Regions from separate parts of the Homo sapiens genome. Here region 1 is linked to region 2. The links are contacts of gene promoters, found by promoter capture Hi-C in human tissues and cell types (Jung and others, 2019). All regions are on one chromosome and are shown on one strand. Each heading gives the region's core, a stretch centred on a gene start or on the middle of the fragment in contact. The rest is flanking DNA. Distances are from core to core; before and after follow the strand shown.

What was found. The method cuts DNA at HindIII sites, captures the fragments that hold promoters and counts their contacts. A contact is called where the count stands out against the background at its distance.
Region 1: a fragment that was not itself captured here is called in contact with the fragment with the promoter of OR2A25 in region 2 in 1 of the 25 tissues and cell types used here (hippocampus).

Annotation. Positions count from the first base shown.
Region 1 is chr7:144,029,242-144,031,941 of GRCh38, forward strand. No RefSeq gene overlaps it. Among named protein-coding and RNA genes, the nearest start is that of OR2A5, 18 kb to the right of the region's middle. RefSeq lists a silencer at 1,141-1,341. The HindIII fragment of the contact is 4,736 bases long and covers 1-2,700 here.
Region 2 is chr7:144,068,492-144,071,191 of GRCh38, forward strand. OR2A25 (olfactory receptor family 2 subfamily A member 25) reads left to right here and starts at 1,320. Exons shown (of 2, transcript NM_001386096.1): 1 at 1,320-1,405. The HindIII fragment of the contact is 18,133 bases long and covers 1-2,700 here.

The DNA of each region.
Region 1 (2,700 bases), core at 107-2,606, 39 kb before region 2:
GATTTTTTTGAATTGTGTTTAGAAAATAATGCAGGCATTCATTTTACTTTTGGAAATTAGGTTTATTTTAGGCTTGATATGTGGCCCTTCCTTCCTTCCTTCCTTCTTTCTTTCTTTTCTTTCCTTTCTTTCTTTCCCTTTCCTTATGAGTTTTCTACTGGCATTTAAAAAGAAGGTTCGGCCGGGCGCGGTGGCTCACGCCTATAATCCTAGCACTTTGGGAGACCGAGGTGGGTGGATTATCCGGGGTCAGAAGTTCAAGACCAGGCTGGTCAACATGGTGAAACCCCGTCTCTACTAAATATACAAAAATTAGCCTGGCGTGGTGGCAGGAGCCTGTAATCCCAGCTATTCAGGAGGCTGAAGCAGGAGAATTGCTTGAACCTGGGAGGCAGAGGTTGCAGTGAGCCGAGATCACGCCATTGTTCTCCAGCCTGGGCAACAAGAACAAAACTTCGTCTCAAAAAAAAAAAAAAAAAAAAAAAAAAAAAAGAAAAGAAGAAGAAGGTTCATTGTCTGTTTTCAGGTTTCAGAGACTGTGAAGTATTAATTATATCTATTTTGTTAATTATGCTATTTAGACCTCTATGTGTTTTTTCCCATAATCTGATACAGAGTGAAAACAGTTGAATTCCTCACTCCTGCTAGTTCTATGTTCCTATTACCTCTTGAGTCACTTCTAGATTTTGCTTTATAAAGGTTGACTTTATTTCATTTGAAGTTTATGTAGTTATAACTATAATATCTGCTGTGTTAATTATATTATTTGGTCTTATTACATGCTCTTATATGACATTAACTTTTTTGTCTGATATTAAGATTACAATTCTTGCTTTACTCTGATATTAAGATTACAATTCATAATTTTACTGTTTAAAAGTGTAATACTAAAGTATTGCATAGTGTCCCTAAGTACAAGAAAGCTGTGATGTGCTTTTACAGAGAAAATATAGGTGTTAAATAACCTTTGGCACACCATGAGTTCAATGTTAACAAGTCAACAATGTAGTACTTCCAAAAACAGAAACAGAAAAAAAGAAAAAGTATGCCACTACTCATGCTTTTCTTTTTAAATATTATAAATCTCTTTGCTTTAACTCTGTTTCTTGTGAACAGAGTAAAATTGAACTTTGTTATTTATATCGAAACTCTAAGTTACTTTAATAAGTGAGTTTGTCTATTTATAACTGAAATGTTTATTTTAGGATAGAGCATTGGATTTTATGTTAAGCTTGGTGGATTTGTAGCTTTAAAAAACATGTGTTGTATGTTTTATTTTTTGTGTCATTCTAACATTGAAGATTTAAGATCATTCTAACTTAAGATTTAAGTTTCATTCTGGAGGTTATGTTTTAGATCTCTAATTTTGTGCAATATCCTTAAGCTTCTGTTTCTTTACATTGAATTAATTACTTCCCACATGAATGTAATTACCTGTTATGGACAATAATGGAATTTGTCTATATACTCTTTATCCTGCCTTCCTGTCTCTCCTCTCTCATCTGATTTTAGTTGAGCATATTACCATTCTTAGTATTTATTCTTATCAATTAAATGTACTTATATCTGTTTTACTTGATTTGCCAGATTTAAGTGAAATACTTTTGCTCTCAGACATTAAAGATGAGGAAGTCAGCATTACACAATCTCCTATCTTCTTTTCTTCCATTTTTTGTCATTTGTACTTATTTCTATATTTTCAAGTCATGTTTTTGGCATTTGCATTCTGCCCTGCCAGCTAAGTCCTCATATTTACTTTCATCACAGTCCTACAAATAAAAAGATTCAATGCTCACTGCCACTTCTGTCACTGATTTTCTGGGACTGACATTCTTTGGTTTCTGTTATGTTCTATACTATTTGTGTCTTTTCATTTGTACAAACATTTGGCTGGGTAAAAAACTTGTGTGATACTTTCTTTCCTGGAGGATTTTTGTAAATGTTCCTTCACAAACTTTAGCTATGCTATTGGATATTGCTATGAAAATGTACAAATCTAGACTGACTCTATAAGTAGCTTTACTTTTGCCTAGCTAACCACATGATTCTCTCTTTATATTTTAAATTTAGTAACATTACTAGGATGTATCATTATACTTCCATTCTGTGTCAATTTCCCAAGGACATAGTTTGCCTTTTCAATATCTAGATTCATGTCTAATTTTTACTTCAGAAGAATATTCTTGAATTATAACTTAAACTACTTTTACTTTATGACTTAAATTTTCTAGAAAATGAACATATCAGCACTCTTACACCTATCTTCCACATTTTTCATGTGTCAATTTAAGAAAAAAAGACACCAGAGAAGATTATCTCCCAACAAAACAAATGTATTTGGGAGTAAATAAAGAGAATTATAATCTGGGATGTACTATGGCAAATACAGTGAGGGAAGAGTAAAGGAAAACTTTTATTGCCAATGGTTGAAGTTTACGTAAACTGCTCAGAAATAGAGTTCATTGGATTCATTGGCTCAAAGCCAGAGATATTGGTTCATTGGTGGAGATGCTATTACTCGGCAAGTGTTAAGGGAACATCTTATCGGAATTGCTGCAATCCTAAAGAATGTTTAGTGATAAACCTTATCATAAAAGTATGTGTATATATGAGAAACATGCAAGAATTTCTCGTGGGGTTATTTTTTAAAGTCCTTTAGACTGTGTGTGTGTGTGTGTGTGTGTGTGTGTGTGTGTGTGT
Region 2 (2,700 bases), core at 70-2,569:
CCAAATGACTTATGGAAAAATAAAAAATATTTGGAAAATATTACTTACACTGCCTTATGTAGAAGTAGAAAATCCAAAACCTTAATGTTCAAAAAATTGAATTGGTTACCAGAATTTTCTTCTAATCAAAGAACACCATGCCATATAGTTTTAAAGACAAATTTTACCGATCCTTAAGGAACAGCTAATTTTCATACTATGTAAAACTTATTGAGAATAGACAAAAGAAGTACAGCAATCCAGCTTGCTTTATAGGGCTAGTATAACAATGATAACAAAACTAGAAAAGTACAGTAGAAGAAAAGTGATTTATTGAACAAATCTCAAAAATGAACATAAATGCAAATTAGCCTAAGTGTTAGTAAACCAAGTTCAGCATTGCTATTATCAAACAAAATACATCTTTTTCAGATAAAATATAATTTTAGGCAAAAAAATTATAAGACATATAGAAGGCTTTTATATTTATAAAATTAGAAATAGAAAAAGAAGAGATATAATTTATGAGTTTATATATTTAATAAATTGGACCGTGGACAACATATGGGTCACAGTGATTGTTTCTCTCCAGGCATTAGATGCCCTTGGGCATCAATATGAGGAAGCAGCATCTTTTCAGTATATGAGGACACAATCTGAACACCAATCACCAACAAGCCTCTTACTGAACAGGTCTGATGGGGAAAAGCACATTAAAACCTGCTACAGGTGAGCTCTCTCAAGGTTAAAATAATAGGTTTTTTTACTTTCTTAGTTGGCAGTCATAAACATTAAAAAAACTTTAATTTAGCAAATTACATCCTGCCTCCTTTATATTTAAGTATAAGAATGGATTTAGGTAAAAGACTAAAAGAAAAATTTAAAGCACAAAGACACCATCGGATTGTCTCAGCTGGATTTCCGGAAATTATAAAATAGGGTCAGTTCATTTTCATTTCTTCATTCTCAGAAGACAGAGAAAATAGTAATAGTCACAGACCTCAGGGATTATGGTCGTCCTCACTTCACCTCACACTCCCCTTGCATTCAAAATCACTAGAAATTAAAGAACAGGGATTGCTTCTTGGTAAGAACTGTCCTTGTTTGTGCTCCAGTTAAATCTTACAAAAAGGGTTCAACAAATCCCACTGGGATGCTTTATCCTTCTTTCTGATCCCTTAACATGTTGCCCACAGCTTCTATAGCTCTTGCTACCTGGTCCTACTTTGGGAATTGGATTCCTTGTGGAGATTTGATGGAAAAAATTACAGAATATATGTTCGGGTTGCACAGAAGATAAAACTCAGTCAAAATGGGATGGGAATACTATATGGGTTCCACCTGCCCTGAAACAAGTGATTCTATTTGGAAGGTTGAATCTATATGAGTTCCACCTGCCCTAAAAACAAGTGAATCTATTTGGAAGGTTAGTAGGTGGGGATATTTTGGAGTTCCTGAAACTAAAATAAGCCTGGGGAATCTGTAATGTATGAAGAGGTCCTGGAAGTAATTGTATTCCTGCTTAAATTTCTGATCATGAATCCTACACTGACTGAAGAAAGTAACAGCAGCAACATCTTGACATCAACATCCTTCCAGAGAAAACCAGAGAGATAAGTACAGGGAGAGCCCTTTTCCCTAGGACAGGAGCAGATGGCAGTGTGCGTGATGGGTCTTTATCTCTCCACTGCAACACACTTTCATAGCATACTGAGGCATGGTTGATCTAAGCAGAGAATAACGTCATCTCTTCTGAGAGCTATCCAACCTCCACTGGGGCACTTTTTTCCCCCAATAATCTTTTTGGAATGAAAGAGTTTCAACACTAGCTTACAGATGCTTTTTACTAATTTGTGAAGCTTTACCTAACTCATATCCACCTTGTTTTCTCATTTTTAGTTGTTAATCCTGATGTAAAATGTAAGTTTTTATATTATCCAACCTTTATTTATTATACAATTTCAGAAGCACTGTAATAAAAAATCACAATGCAAACTGTAATTCTTACCTGTTAATGCCAAATTTCTGCTATTTACAGACTTAGCTACTAGACTAATTTAACATTTTTCTCTTTCAGATATACCTAATGTAGATAATTTATTTTGATGCTTTTGGTGTTGAATTTCTTGTTTAAATTGTAAGGTAAAATAGTTGTTTGTGGGGGGTTGCCTCATGTTTCTATTGCCTCATGAAATTAAGTAGTGGTTTTATAGAACAATGGGCCTAATTGACTGCAAACTAGATTTATGTTACATAAGAAGAAGAGTGACACAAAGGATTTGTTTTAAAATATGAAATTCATTTTTCTGAGCTATTTAAACATGAGAATTATCATATTTGTGAGTCCCTTTTTTCTAAATTTTTGTAGGTACATAGTAGGTGTATATATTTATGGGGTATATGAGATGTTTTGATACAGGCACGCAATGTGAAATAAGCACATCATAGGGAATGAGGCACCCAGACCCTCAAGCATTTACCCTCTAAGTTACAAAAAATCCAATTACATTCTTTAATGTGAATGTAATCCAATTACATTCTTTAATGTGAATGTAAAGAATTACATTCTTTAATTATTTTAAAATTACAATGAAGTTATTGACTATGGCCACCCTATTTTGCTAACAAATAATAGGTCTTATTCATTCTTTTTAATTTTTTTGTACCCATTAATGATCCCCACCTCCTCCCAATACCCCTGCTACCCTTCCCAGCCTCTAG